Regions from separate parts of the Homo sapiens genome. Here regions 1, 2 and 3 are each linked to region 4. Evidence: promoter capture Hi-C in 16 types of primary human blood cells and fetal thymus (Javierre and others, 2016). All regions are on one chromosome and are shown on one strand. The core of a region is centred on a gene start or on the middle of the fragment in contact, and the rest is flanking DNA. Distances in the headings are between cores, read along the strand shown.

Region 1 (3,829 bases), core at 177-2,676, 7.0 Mb after region 4:
AGTGTAGGCTTTAAATTTCCAGTATTTCACCATCAATCCACAAATCCACATTCCCAGTAGAAAATACCATTCTAGTTTTAGTTTTTTGGGTTTTGGGTTTTTTTTTTTTTTTTAACTGAGACTGGGTCTCCCTGACAGGGTCGCCTAGACTGGAGTGCAGTGACAGGATCACTGCTCACTGAAGCACTGAAGCCTCAGCCTCCCGGGCTCAAACGATTCTCCCACCTTAGCCTTCCTAGTAAGCTGGGACTACAGGCACAGACCACCACACCTGGCTAATTTTTGTATTTTTTGTAGAGATGGAGTTTCGCCATGTCCAGGTTGCTCTCGAACTCCTGGGTTCAAACGATCCACCCACCTCAGTCCCCCAAAGTGCTGGGATTGCTGGCGTGAGCCACCGCGTCCGGCCTCAATATTTTTAAAAATGACCTTTCAGTCAAAGCCTTGGTAATATAACCAGTTTCCAATTGTATTCTGCTATACAGAGAGAGCAGATTTTTATTAGACTTATTGAAATGACCATATTACCATAAGAAGACTCACAAATGGTTTTCTAATTATGGAGGAATCAAGTAAAGAGAAAAAAAGTTTTTATCTTTTTTTACACAAGTATACTCTATCAAATTGCTGTAAATTATAAATAGCTTAAAAGACAAGATTTTCTTAAATCTGGAAAAAACTATTTGAGTAAAGAACCAACAACATTTGAAATAATATCATAAAAACATTGTCTTCATTAGTTAAACTCACGTAATTAATTCTTGTTCTGCCTGATCTTGATTAATAGTTTCATGAACCCACTTTTTTATTACAGTTCTGGAAATTGTTATATTGTCCATTGATCTTCAAGTTGTTAGAAACCCAAATCTAAGAGTATATTTTAGGGCCAGGCACAATGGTTCATGCCGGTAATCCCAGCAATTTGGGAGGCCAAGGCGGGAGGATCATTTGAGGCCAGGAGTTGGAGAAAAGCCTGGCCAATATAGTGAAACCCCATCTCTACTAAAAATACAAAAAATTAACCCAGCGTGGTAGCGCATGCCTGTAATCCCAGCTACTCAGGAGGCTGAGGCATGAGAATCACTGGAACCAGGGAGGCAGAGGTTGCAATGAACCAGGATCGTGCCACTGCACCCCAGCCTGGGCATCAGAGCAAGATTGTCTCAAAAATAAATAAATAAAAATAAAAGAGTACTTGTTAGAATATTTTCCAGGAGTCTGTTTTTTAAAAAAGAATTCAAAACAATAATATGGATGACAAAAACTTAAAATAGCCATGGTTAAAAATCTGATGAAGTTAACAACTGAGAAGAACATTTATTTATTGCTATTATATACAGTATTTTAAGATAACCAGAATTATGACTGGTAATATAATACATTTGTACGAATTTTTTTTAAAGATGGGGTCTTGCTCTATTGCCCAGGCTAGAGTGCAGTGGCACATTCATAGCTGACTGCAATCTCAAACTCCTGGACTCAAGCAATCCTTCTGCCTCAGCCTCTCAAGTAGCTGGGACTACACGTTTGTACCACCATGCTTGGTTTTTTTTTGGTTTTTTTTGTTTTTGTTTTGTTTTGTTTTGTTTTAATAGAGACAGGGTCTTGTTTTGTTGCCCAAGCTGGACACAAATTCCTGGCTATAAGTAATCCTCTGACCTCAGCCTCCCAAAGTGTTGGGATTATAGGCATGAGCCATCATTCCCAGCATACTTGTATGGACTTATATAATTTTTCAAACATTCATATAAACAATATTCCCATAAATGCAAATAAAAGAAAAATCTAGTATCAGTTATCGTTTGACAATATTTCTTATAAAATTTACCAAATAACCCAAATCATTTAATACCTCTAAAAGATGAGAAAGATATGTTTTAATGCTTTCCAGGAGTCCAACTGGAAAATTCCAAAGTTAATTCTACATTTAAAAAACTTAAATTGGAATTTGATTTTGAGGAAGTTTTTAAAGGGCTCAAAACACTGTATCAATACAGAATCACAAGTTACTTGTGAAATAAGTCATTTATATAACCAGAGTGATAATCAAAAGGCTTAAAAAGCCATACAAATAATTACATTAAAACTATCTTAACCATTTTAAACTTCAGGTTAAAAAAAAATCAAATCTAATAAAAGCAACACAGGAAATTATGTTGATAAAATGTATAATCTTCCTTAGGCCAGGTACCAAAAAAGTAAAGAAAAACTTTCTGCAATGTGATTGTTTCTCCTTTTGGGGAGCTCATTTAGATAACCTGGAGGTCGAATCTGATGAAAAGGGTACTTGAATTTAATCAGATACAGGAAGATGTGTCCCAGGTCATGATTATAACAATTCACATGTATCAAGAAAAGCCAAGAGTACAGAATCAAGTTATATTGAAAAAGAGCATTGATTTCTAGGCCTTCAGGATAAACCTTTAGTGTCAGGCCATACCAGCAATTAGAACCAAAAAAAAAAAATTGTATAGCAACTGATGAAAAAATTGAAGGAGAGAGTTACCATCCCAGGCTTTCTAAAGAGGAGAAAACCTGAATGCAATGATATATGACCTGGAAATCAAATAGCAAGACATGGCAAATTTGAACCACTGAGATACGAAATCTGAGAAATTTCAAAAGCAAAACTCTACCTCAAGAAATGATATTACCAGACGGGTGCAATGTCCATAATCCAAGCACTTTGGGAGGCCGAGGTGGGCAGATCGTTTGAGCCCAGGAGTTCGAGACCAGCCTGGGCAACATGACAAAATCCTGTCTCTACAAAAAATACAAAAATTAGCCGGGCGTGGTTACGTGTGCCTTTAATCTCAGCTACTAAGGGGGCTGAAGTTGGAGGACTGCTTGAGCCCAGTAGGTCAAGACTGCAGTGAGCCATGATCGTGCAACTACACTCCAGCCTGCATGACAGAGTGAAACCCTATCTCAAAAAAAAAAGCAAAGAAATTATTATTTTAAATGAAGAAGACAGCATTTTTAATGTGAAACTAGGGAAATTAAATGAATCTCAGTGAAAAAAGGTGGCAGAAATAGAAACTGCCTGCAGTTTAGGGGATAGCAGTTAAAGAAATAGATTTTAGAATTCAAAATGAAAGCTTCTTACAATTTTATCAGGAGCAGATCAATACTTCAAGAAAATGTTGTTTTAAAAATGGAGGACCAGGCTCTGGTCCTGTATCAGTGCACCTCCAACATTAATGTTTAAATTTTAGAAAACCACTTATAAACTATTTATTTTTAATTCTGGCCAACCTGATCATTCATAAAAGTTTTCTCACAGGCCTATTATTCATAAATGCTCTTTGACTTGCTTAGACATTTTCTCATTTTTTTAACCCCCAAGTCTTTGTCCTACCATTTTTCATTTTTTAAAAAAGCCAATTATTTTATAGGACTAAAATTTACTATTCAAGATTATTTATCATACAAAAGTATTTTTTCCTAAATTCATTTTTGATTAATAGATATAAATATATTTATAATTTTATAAACTTTAAAAAGCCAAAAATGAACTTATATTTATTCAGTGGTTTGTTTCCATTTTTATCTTATTTGGATGTGATCCAGACATCGTATCTACTATTTAACATAATATAACTTCAGGATTTTAAATTACATAAAAATTTTATTTATAAATATTTATTCTATTTACAATTAACTAATTTATTTTTTATCAATTACATCTAGATTACTTCTTAAAACTGAAATATAAGACAAAGCTAGTCATTGTTGTGTTTATTAACAAGTTTCATATCTGTTAATATCAAGTATTTATCTAAGTAAAAACTTTAAAGTTAAATACATGGGTATCCTGTTGATAACTCAG
Region 2 (3,626 bases), core at 469-2,968, 7.6 Mb after region 4:
GAAATGATCACTTAGAAAATTCAATTAAAATGCTGTTGTTTTGTAATGAGGATTTTTCTTCTGATTTCAAATTCCATGAACTCCTATTGAAAACAAACAATGTACAGGTAATATATGCACATTGTAGAAATGCAGGAATTATCTATTGGAATTACCCTAAAGATAGAAATTTTATCTATTTGCTTATAAAATTGATTCAGAAGGTTATTACCTTAATGTAGTTATTACTGAATTGCCAGGAAATGAGTGGAGACAGAGCTTTAAGATAAAGGATACTAAAAGCAGCTAAGAACTCCAGGACTCAGGTCAAATCAAGGAACTGATAATAAGATCATTGAACTGTATAAATTAAGTCAAAGAACTCCTATTAAAAACAAACAGGTAATATATGCACATCGTAGAATTGTAGGTAAGCAAAAAGGAGAAGGTTGATCATGCTTTGCTGTATGTCTTCGTAGACTTTCTCAGTCCACTCTCAGTACACGTTTTATTTTACTTGCTCATCCTGATTATACTGTTTTTACCCTCCACTTAAGTCATTTTTTGAATTTAAATGGTGAATATCTTTCTGTGTCAAATATTTCAACATTAATATGTACATAGTATTAAATGGATTTACTATAAATTATTTAGCCTATTCTTACTGGCCACAGTAGTCTAACTAGATCTTTATACATTTGTATTTTTCTAGAATAAACTCAAAAATGTGTAAGATCAAAGGGTATATATTGTGTTGCCAAGAAAAAGTTTGTGCCAATGTATATTTTTGCCAGGAGTCTTTCATAGTACCATTTATATCCTTCCCAGCATTAGCTGTGTTCTACCTTCTCTCCTCTTTGCCATTTTTACAAGAAAACCGGGCATGTCTAAAGTTTTCTTTTCCTTTTTTTTTTTTTTTTTTTTTTTTTGGAGAGTCTCACTGGAATGCAGTGGCATGATCTTGGCTCCCTGCAACCTCCAGTCAGGCTGGTGTGCCTTGTCGCGATATCAACGCGACCTCCGCCTCCCAGGTTCAAGTGATTGTCCTGCCTCACCCTCCTGAGTAGCTGGGATTACAGGTGGGCGCCACCACTCCCATCTAATTTTTATATTTTTAGAGAGATGGGGTTTTACCTTGTTGGCCAGGCTGGTCTTGAACTCCTGACCTCTAGTGATCCACCTGCCTCAGCCTCCCAAAGTGCCGGTATTAAAGGCATGAGCCACCAGGCCTGGCCTAAAATTTTCTTGATTAATTTTGATCTCATTTGTATTTTGTAAATGACTTATCTGTTGAGGCTTTTGCCATTGAGATGTTTGTCTTTTTCTTACTAATTTGTAAGAATTCTTGATGGGTTTCTGTTAGTCATGTATTTTGCTAATAATTTCCCTAGTTTGTAGTTTGCCACTTAGTGCTATTTTTGACATAAATGATGTATTTTAATGTAGTTGCATGTTGACCTAGTCCATTATGGTTTTTGTATTTGGTCCACGTGGATTGGAAAACCTTTGCTTTGATTATACTTTTCTTTGGGCACTTTATGTTTTCTGCGTTTGATTTAAATCTGGAATCTATCTGGAATTTTGGTATTACCACATGGAAAAAGGATCCAACCTTATTTTCCAAAACACAAAGCACTGATTTGTAGTTTTCTCTGATTTACATGTTGTCAGTACTACTGCCTTGGCTAATTTCAAGCTACCAAGGCTTTAACAACTGGTTTGCAAAATTCTCAAGGATTTGACAGTTGATTCTCAGGAGCCAGTATGAGCTGGTTGCCTCACACTTTGCTTCTAACTCTTGGGGGCAATGCTTTCCCTCCACTGTTGTTTCTTTCCCTTTGGAGGGGAGTAAGTGATGTAACACCTGCTTCTTTCCACCCCTTTATTATTTGCTATCCCAGGGGAGCTAATAGTCATACCCAAGCTCTTCCTTTTTTCATCATAGGAGTTAGGCCAGGTGCAGTGGCTCATGTCTGTAATCCCAGTGCTACATTGTAGGTGGTCGAGGTGGAAGGATAGATTGAGGCCAGGAGTTGGAGACCAGCCTGGGTAATATAGTGAGACCCCATCTCTACCAAAAATTTTAAAAAATTAGTGAGGTGTGGTAGTGTGCATGCACCTGTAGTCCTACGTAGTTGGGAGGCTGAGGCAGGAGAATTGCTTGAGCCCAGGAGTTTGAGATTTCAGTAAGCTATGATTGCACCACTGTACTCCAGCCTGGGTGACAGTGAGACCCCGTCTCAAAACCTACAATGAAACGCCATTTCATGGGTGCTATAGAATGGCTATAATTATAAAAAATTATTGTAACAAGAATTGTACAAAAATTAATGTAACAAGTATTGGCTGGGATATGAAGAAATTGGAGCCCTAGTACCTTGCTGGTGCGAATGTAAAATGATGCATGCACTGTGGAAAATAATTTGATGATTCCTCAAAAAGTTAAACAATTACCATACGACCCTGCAACTCCTCTCCTCAGTTCATACCCAAGAGAACTAAAAACATGTCTGCACAAAAACTTGTATGAACATTCACGGCAGCATTATTCCTAATGTCTCAAAGTGGAAGCAACCCAAATGTCCATCGATGGATGGATGGATAACTGAAATGCGATATATTCATACAATAGAATATTATCTGTTAAAATGAATGAAGTACTTGTGTATGCTACAGTGTGGATGAACTGTAACATTATGCTAAGTGAAAGAAGCCAGACACAAAAGACCACATATTTGATTTATATGATCCAGAACAGGCAAATTCACAGAAATAGACAACTATACTAGTGACTGCTAATGGGTATGGGTTTGTTTTTTGGGGTGATGAAAAAGTTCTGGGATTAGATGGTTGCACAACCTTGTGAATATACTAAAAAGCACTGAATTATAACCTTAAAAGAGTGGATTTCATGTTACATGAATTACATCTCAATTTTTAAAAAGTGATGTATCTGAGGCATATCTAGTGTAACTTCTGAGGCCCTAAAGAAATTACTTTCCCATGAGTAACAGCTTGGGTTGTGGCTGCTGAAAGGACTTTAACCACCTAAGCATCAAACCCCCTTCTGGTTAAGACTGAACAGAATAAGGATTTGGGAAAGGTTGTTTTGGGCATTTAACTTAAGAATGTTGGACATTTTTTGTTTGTTTTGAGACAAGGTCTTGCTCTGTCACCCAGGCTAGAGTGCAGTGGTGTGATCAGTGCTCACTGCAGCTTCGAACCACTGGGATCAAGCGATTCTCCCCCCTTAGCCTCCCAAGTAGCTGGATCCACAGGCAGGTGCCACCATGCCCAGCTATCTTTTCTCTTTTTGTTTTTTTAAAGATAGGGTCTCGGTCTGTCACCCAGACTGGAGTGCAGTGGTCATGGCTCACTGTAGCCTCGACTTCTCGGGCTCAGGTGATCCTCCCACACTACAGGTGCACACCACCACACCTGGTTAATTTTTTGTGTTTTTGATAGAGACTGGGTCTTGTCATATTGCCCAGGCTGGTCTCAAACTCTGGGCTCAAGCGATCAACTCGCCTTGGCCTCCCAAAGTGCTGGGATTACAGTTGTGAGCCACCGTGCCTGGCCTAATTTTTTAATATTTTGTAGAGACAGGGTGTCACCATGTTGCCTAGGCTGGTTGATTCTTAACTTAC
Region 3 (3,872 bases), core at 555-3,054, 5.1 Mb after region 4:
AGCTCACTGCAACCTCCGCCTCCCGGGTTCAGGCGATTCTTCTGCCTCAGCCTCCCAAGTAGCTGGGACTACAGGCGCCTGCTACCACGCCTGGCTAATTTTTGTATTTTTATTAGAAACAGAGGTTCACCATCTTGGCCAGGCTGGTCTTGAACTCTTGGCCTCGTGATCTGCCCGCCTCGGCCTCCCAGAGTGTTGGGATTACAGGCGTGAGCCACGGTGCCCGGCCAGTTATTCGTATTATCTTTAATAGGCATTGAATTAGCTTTCTTTTAACTGAATACATTCAACATTAATCCCAGAGGTAGCATTGAGTTCAGCTGACACAATGTTTCAGAATCCAAGCCTTCTGCATCCTACTTTCAACCATTATTTTTTAAACCAGTGTATAAAAATAGTTGTTCTTTGCTCCAATAAAGACATTGGAAAATCCAAATTCATAAACTAGACAGGGTATGAGGGAGTATTAATTAGCATGGCAAACACCCTCCCTTTACAAAATAATCCACTGTCTCTTAAAAAGGCTAACAATGAACGAATGCTGGTATTAGTAAAGAAATCACTGGGCAAAGAAACAAAGAGCGAGAAAGCCACGTGAAGTCCCTGGAATTACAATAGAGATAAGCAGAACGATGGGCCTTGATTTACAACATTGGGACTTAAAGACAACTTTTTGGAACAAGCCACTGGGCACGGCCAGGAAAGGAACCTCCCAGTTGTAATCCATGCTGTTGTAAGACTGTGTGCAAAGAATGCAGGGGTGGAGGGAGAATTGGGATCTACCTGGGTTTCTAAATTTTCCCGGGTTTAATTTACTCGTGCATTCTGCTATGTAAAAGAAAACATATTTTCGACTAAAATCTCCTATCTTATCAACGCCAAGTTTTCCTGCTTCCTATTAAGCAACAAGGTTACAGCAAGTGTAACAAACTGAATGTACTTATTGATGATCTTTCCTGCTCCAGCCAATCCATCCTATCACCTTCAGCCTGGCTCCTACCCTGGTCTTCAGTTTACACTTGTGCCTCGTCCCTTATCAGCTCCCCATGAGATTCCAGGCTGCTATTTTAATACTCTGTTACTATCTTAAATCGGGTCGCACCCGTTCTTCTTGTCGGTGAGTGAGGGGCTGCGCTCCAAGTTGCGCGACCACACTGCGGGGAGTAAACGGAGACGGTGACTTGATTGCCACCCGCGCGCTTCACATCGGTGGGGCCGACCAGGCGCCCAGGGCGCACGCACAGCGCCCCTAAGTGGCCGCTCCGGGCGCCTTCTCCCTGCCCCGCCGCGTCTCGCCTGCGCGGGCTCCAAGCGCAGCCTTAACAGGCTCCGAAACTTGAATCAGCGCCCCGATCCCGAGAGGGCTCTTCCTTCGGCCCCATCACTCCCACAATGGAAGGGCGGCCGCCTCCGGAAGGCCGTCCGCCCCCGCGTCCTCGCACCGGCCGAGCCCCGCGCGGGCGCCGAAGAGGTGTGGGTAGCCGGGCGCCAGAGGGGTCGGGCCCCGCCTGCGCCGGAAGTCCGCGCGTGCGCGCTGGCCGGCCTGGAGCGCGCGTCCGGCGCAGAGGGGCGGCGGGGGCGGGGCCGCGGCCGCTCGCAGGGTGTCCCCGCCCCCGCCCCCCGGCGTTCCGCGGTCGCCGTGACAACCGGAGCGGCGGCAACGGCGGCGGGCTAGCAAGTCCGGCGCCGCCTCCCGGCGGTACTGCCAGCCAGGCAGCAGCCGCCCGGCCTCCACGATCTCCCCGCCTCCCGGCCCGCGGGGAGGGACGAGCCCGCCCTCCACCCTCCGCCCGCCCGCCCGCTGGAGAGTGAGCTGCGCCCAGCCGCCCAGCCAGCCCGCCGTTCTCTGGCCGCCGTCCGGGCGCGCGCAGCGAGCGGGCGCGACTATGCCAAGATGGTCCTGCAGGCGCGGAACAAGCACCGGGAGGCGGCTCCCAAGCCGCCCCAGCCACCCCGCGCCTCACAGTCGCCGCTGAGGGGGGCGTCGGACGTCGGCGCCGGGGAGCCGGGGCCCGAGCGCGCGCCCCTGTCCCCGGGGCGCAAGGGCGCCGCGGGCAGGAAGGGGCCCCGCGCCGAGCCCGGCGCGCCGCCCGCCGGGGGCGGCCTTGGGGGGCGCCTGGCCGCCCGGCTGCGCTGGGCGCTGGGCCTGCGGCGCGCGGGGCGCGGCCGGACCTGGACCACGCTCCTGTTAGGTGAGCAGCCCTAGCGCCGGCGCCGCCGGGACGCGGAACTTTGAGGCGCTGGCCCCCTCCCCTCCCCTCCCCTCCCCTTCCTTCCCCTCTCCTCCCGCTTCCGCCGCGCCGAGCCCCGCCAGCCGGACCAGCCAGTTTGCAGCCCTCTCCGACTTTTTCTCTGGGACATTCTTACCTTCTCCTCCCCGCAACTCCCTGGCTCAGCTCTCCTCGCACGCTTCCCACCCGCGCTCTGCCTGGGCTTTAAAAGAATGGCCCGGGGATCAACAGCTGCCCGGCCTGGCCGCGGGCAGCAGGTCTGCGCTAACGAGACTTGAGCGCTGCTGATTGGTACGACTGGCCGCCTTCCCGTTATCTCGGCCTCTGACCGCCAGGATGGTTTGCTTTGGCTTGGAAACGATTCCGTGGAGCTCAAAGCAAACGCACGTTCCATGTCGTAGAGAGTTGCTTAAACTTATAATTAAATTTTAGCGTACTTTTTTCTTCCTGGCCGCAAACGCCGCTGGTGGCACTTTATTTGTGATTCCCCTCGACACGTCACTTTCTAGGTTGTGTTGTGTTTGGGGCGCCCGAGCCTTAATCCTCCCTGCTGCCCTTGGAACCTTTGGTGAGGAGGGCTCTCCTCCCCTCCCTCTGCCATTTACCAAATGGATGATGTGTAATGATGTGCTGAAAAAAAAAAACAAAGTTGACGCATTCGTATGTTTCGGACTGACTTCAGGTTTCCTCTGTTTCCTGGTTGAATTTTGATAAGGCAAGTTGTAGCAGTTTGGATAACAGGCCTAATTTTTCTAAGTCAACTAGTGAAATGCTGTTACATTGCTTTTTTCTATATGCCTCAGTGGGCTTTTCGCTACTGAACTATTTAATTACTGTTGATTTATCCCTTAGTATATTTTCAGATTCCCTTGGTGACTCAAAGTTCCCTTAGCCAGGAGTTGGGGTCCAGTATAAGTCAAGGAATAGGACACAGCAAATTGGCTTCCCCTGAGATCACAGCCACAAATAAAAGCCACTCAGTCATAAAAAGCCAGTCATCTCTGTATGTTTTAATGGGCTCAAGAAGGTTGTTCCTAGGGTACTTTTTTTCCCCCCATTGCCGATTCAAGCCTAGAAAAACCAAGTTTGTTTTTCTTTGTTTGTTTGTTTGTCTGTTTCCAGCACATTTCCCCCCGCCCCCTTTTTTTTTATCTCAGTAGCAAGCTTGAAAAGCTGGCTAGTATGCAGGTTAGAAAAGCTCACCTTGGGGAGGCAGCACGATACAGTGGATGAGGCAGAGCCTTCAGATCTAGTACACAGCGGTTCAGTTTGGTTTAAGTTTCAGGTTCCTTTGTGAGTCTTTCGTTCTCTGCTAGTGGGGGGTTATCACATGGCGAATTTACTCCACAGGGATCCACAGGATCTGTTAAGGATCATAACTAAAAGGTGTGGGTGATACATGGGAAGATACTTTGTGTTTAGAGCACTTGACACATTGTAGTTGTTGTAATAAAAGAAAGTGTGTGATGCTGATTTGAGATCTGATGACAGAATGGAGTTGCATTTTTATTGAATGACTAAACATTAACCACTTTGTAGTAAAATATAGAATGGCATTGCTTCTTCAGGGATGTTACAATAACAAATCTTAGAATAATGATATTTATTGCTATTTTCTGCATATTTTCTTTTTTGATTGCG
Region 4 (3,645 bases), core at 1,010-3,509:
GGACTACAGGCGCACGCCACCAAGCCCGGCTAATTTTTTTTGTATTTTTGGTAGAAATGGGGCTTCACGATGTTGCCCAGGCTGGTCTTCAACTCCTGGGCTCAAGCAATCGTCCCACCTAGGTCATTTTATTCAATAAATATTCAAATGAGCAATTCCCAAGCATTAAGTTAAACACTAAAGACAATGTCCAGAAAGGTGAATTTTTGGCCAGGACAGAACTACTGTATTTAATAAAGTGGATAGGCTGGAGTCCTCCGACCTTAATTGTATCACTAAGCCTTAATGGCAACGTGCTACCTTGATTAAGTCTATCACTTGTATCTACAGAAGAAACGAAATGTAGTGAATTGAATTTCCACAGAATAAACAAACAAAAAAACTGTCTGTGTGTGTCTCCATTCATCAAGGAGGATAGAAGCTGAGAAGATACCACACTCGTCAGCTTGGGATGTCACAGAACATGTCAAAGAGACAGCGAGGAGTAGCAGCTACAAGAGGGTGAATGGAAATCACAGGTCCAGGCTACCCGTTAGGCTATGATTTAATGAGTCCTAAAGCTCTTTTAAGATTCTGTATCCTACGCCAGGCGCGGTGGCTCACGCATGAAATCCCAGCACTTCGGGAGGCAGAGGCAGGCGGATCACTTGAGCCCAGGAATTTGAGACCAGCCTGGCCAACATGGTGAAACCCGTCTTTACTAAAAATACAAAAAAATTAGCCGGGCATGTGGCACATGCCTGTAATCTCGGCTACTCTAGAAAGCTGAGGCAAGAGAATCGCTTGAACCCGCGAGGCAGAGGTTGTGGTGAACCAAGATCGCGCCACTGCACTCCAGCCTGGGCGACAGAGCGAGACTGTCTCAAAAAAAAAAAAAAAAATCCTGCATCCTGCAACTAATTTCAAGATTCATAGTGGGCCGCGCGCATAATCATAGAGATTACGTCTGTAATCTCAACACTTTGGGAGGCCGAGGCGGGAGGATAACTTGAGGTCAGGAATTCGAGACCAGCCTGGCCAATATGGCGAAACCCCGTCTCTACTAAAAATACAAAAATTAGTTGGGCGTGGTGGCGCATGCCTATAATCCCAGCTACTCGGAAGGCTGAAGCAGGAAAATCTCCTGAACACGGGAGGAGGAGGTTGCAGTGAGCCGAGATCGCGCCACTGCAGTCCAGCCTGGGCGAGACAGCGAGACTCCGTCTCAAAAAAAAGAGAAAAAAAGAAAAAAGGAAAAAAAAGATTCATAGTGGATTACCATTCCCAAATTCAGAGGGAGTAAAGAAAGTTCTATAACACTGTAGTAAAGCTAAATTTCATCCTCTAAATAAAATTCTGCAACAGGTAACTGTACAAGGGCATCTTTTATTGTACATGAAGTGTCAAGTTATTCAAAGCAGCGGGCTAAAGTCCTTTCTGAAATGTGGCTTGGTGTGCATTTTCGAAGTTACTTAAACTTGGCGGACGAAAGGACAGGAGTAAAGAGGCCCCAAACGCGAGCCGCGGGACGCGCAGGAGCGGGACCCCACGGCGCACGGAGCCCTCGGTCACAACAACGCACGGGACAGAGGCGACCCTGGGCGGCCAGAGCGGGGCAGGCCGGCCGCAGGCCCACGGAACGGGGTTGCAGGGAGGCGAGCAAAGCCACCGCTAAGGGGTCAGCAGAGACTTCAGACCCTAATTGCTCTCCTCAGGGCGCCCGAGGAGGCAAGCTGGGGCAGGGATCCCTTTAGCCACCCAGACCGAATCTCGGAGGGTACCTGACTGCGGGCGGCCAGTCCACAGCCCCCTCCCGCCGCCCCGGCCGGAGAAGAGGCAGGTTCTGCGCAGAGCTGCCACCCTCGCCAGCGTCGCCAGCATCGCGTGCGTCTCAGATGGCATCGGTCCCGGTGCAAGCGGCGAACTCCGTGCGGCGCCACCCGCCGCCACTGGGGGGCGCCCACGGACGCCGCAGACCCCGCCCCCGCCGGGCGGGGCTGAGCACTAGTCGCCTGCTGGGCCAGCTTCTAGTCTGTCGGTCAGACCAAGGGCACTCAGACTGGAAAGGTTGTTGCTGGGCTTGGGTGTCCGTCCTTTCCTGTCTCCTTTTCTTCCTCTTTTCACTTAAATCCACTGAGTCTCTCGCCAAGTCAGTGATTTAGGTAATCCCGCCGCCCCTGGCGGAACCTTTGTGACGCCGGAACTGATGTGCCGTAGGGTGGCTGCGGTCGGAGGACTGTTTTGGTAAAGGACTAGCAGTTCTCTGCGGAGGGCCGGTTGATACAGTTCCGGTGGGAGAACGCGGCTGCGAGGTTTTCGGCTTTGGCTCCTGATATGCAGCGACAGAATTTTCGGCCCCCAACTCCTCCTTACCCTGGTCCGGGTGGAGGAGGTTGGGGTAGCGGAAGCAGCTTCCGGGGAACCCCGGGCGGGGGCGGACCACGGCCGCCCTCCCCTCGAGACGGGTACGGGAGTCCGCACCACACGCCGCCGTACGGGCCCCGGTCTAGGCCGTACGGGAGCAGTCACTCTCCGCGACACGGCGGCAGCTTCCCGGGGGGCCGGTTCGGGTCTCCGTCCCCTGGCGGCTACCCTGGCTCCTACTCCAGGTCCCCCGCGGGGTCCCAGCAGCAATTCGGCTACTCCCCAGGGCAGCAGCAGACCCACCCCCAGGTAATAATAATAGCCAGCGTTTGCCGAGCTCTTACTTTATGGCAGGCACGGTACTAATATTCCCTTTACGTGGATTATTTTGTCTAATCCTCTCTGAGGTACTATTGTTAGCCCAATTTTGCAGATGAGCGAACTGAGGCTTAGAGAAGTTGAGTGACTTCCGGAAGATTATCCGAAAGAGTGGCAGAGCCGTACGTTCTGTTTTCGAGCCCTCGTGCTTTTAACCAATACACTGCCACCCGTACACAGATTTTCCTAATTCTCCATTTCCTCCTGTTTGCCAAAGGCCTTGCCAGTTTGTTTCAAGAAATAGTTCTTTTTCTTTTTTTTTTTTTTTTTTTTATCTTTCTTTCGAGCTACACTGGCTTCTGCTCCAACTTCCCTGAAAAGAAAATCGGTGGTAGTGGAAGTTTTCCATTCCTTTAGTGAGAGTAAATACAAAAGACAGAGAGAGTATCTCTAGCATGTCTGGGATTTCTGTGGTTTACAACTTGCAACTACGTGGTTTTCCAACTTGCTGTATTCTACACCAACCCCCTACCCCTTTTGAGCCTGGAGCTAAGGAGTAAAGAAAATGTTCATGAGCTAGAAAGGTTCTAGAAACTTTAAAACTATAGTATTGTTTTCTCCTGAAAAAAGTGAAAATTTCGAGGGAAAATTGAATATAATTACTTGATTTCATCACTGCTTGTATTTAATTACTGCAAAGTTACTACATTAGACACAAAAGTATTTGAGATGACAGTGGTCATGGAATTATAAATAAATGAGAATAACGAATTGCTTTAAGTACTTTTTTTAAAAAATAGGAACACTTGATTAAAGGAAGCATGGACTTTGTAATTGAACATTATTTAGGTTCAAGTCACAACTTTTAAGCAGCAATGTGATTCCCGCTAACCTTTAGCTAAAGGAAGAAGTACCAATTATCTTTACTAAGTGTTTTTTTAACTGATTTTTTTTCTAAAGGGTTCTCCAAGGACATCTACACCA

The links. Contacts are between HindIII fragments. The CHiCAGO score rates a contact against its expected background, and 5 or more counts as called.
Region 1: a fragment that was not itself captured here is called in contact with the fragment with the promoter of MPLKIP in region 4 in 1 of 17 cell types (total CD4 T cells); the score reaches 7.8 in total CD4 T cells.
Region 2: a contact is called between a fragment that was not itself captured here and the fragment with the promoter of MPLKIP in region 4, in 4 of 17 cell types (total B cells, total CD4 T cells, naive CD8 T cells and 1 more). The highest score is 13.2, in total B cells.
Region 3: the fragment with the promoter of DPY19L1 here is called in contact with the fragment with the promoter of MPLKIP in region 4 in 2 of 17 cell types (non-activated CD4 T cells and monocytes); the score reaches 7.4 in non-activated CD4 T cells.

What each region holds. Positions count from the first base shown.
Region 1 is chr7:33,124,905-33,128,733 of GRCh38, reverse strand. No RefSeq gene overlaps it. Among named protein-coding and RNA genes, the nearest start is that of BBS9, 2.7 kb to the left of the region's middle. The HindIII fragment of the contact is 3,349 bases long and covers 1-3,100 here.
Region 2 is chr7:32,483,225-32,486,850 of GRCh38, reverse strand. It overlaps LSM5 (LSM5 homolog, U6 small nuclear RNA and mRNA degradation associated), which reads left to right. Exons shown (of 5, transcript NM_012322.3): 5 at 1-1,513. Among named protein-coding and RNA genes, the nearest start is that of LSM5, 5.3 kb to the left of the region's middle. The HindIII fragment of the contact is 5,746 bases long and covers 1-3,626 here.
Region 3 is chr7:35,035,417-35,039,288 of GRCh38, reverse strand. It overlaps DPY19L1 (dpy-19 like C-mannosyltransferase 1), which reads left to right and starts at 1,804. Exons shown (of 22, transcript NM_001366673.1): 1 at 1,804-2,192. The coding sequence starts at 1,895. It overlaps LOC105375228 (a long non-coding RNA gene), which reads right to left and starts at 2,503. Exons shown (of 3, transcript XR_001745162.3): 1 at 2,368-2,503. RefSeq lists an enhancer at 965-1,194 and silencers at 1,245-1,914, 1,945-2,114. The HindIII fragment of the contact is 4,166 bases long and covers 1-3,397 here.
Region 4 is chr7:40,133,236-40,136,880 of GRCh38, reverse strand. It overlaps MPLKIP (M-phase specific PLK1 interacting protein), which reads left to right and starts at 2,259. Exons shown (of 2, transcript NM_138701.4): 1 at 2,259-2,652; 2 at 3,622-3,645. The coding sequence starts at 2,314. It overlaps SUGCT (succinyl-CoA:glutarate-CoA transferase), which reads right to left and starts at 1,876. Exons shown (of 14, transcript NM_001193313.2): 1 at 1,761-1,876. The coding sequence starts at 1,860. RefSeq lists silencers at 1,804-2,003, 2,464-2,533 and an enhancer at 2,184-2,253. The HindIII fragment of the contact is 4,548 bases long and covers 1-3,645 here.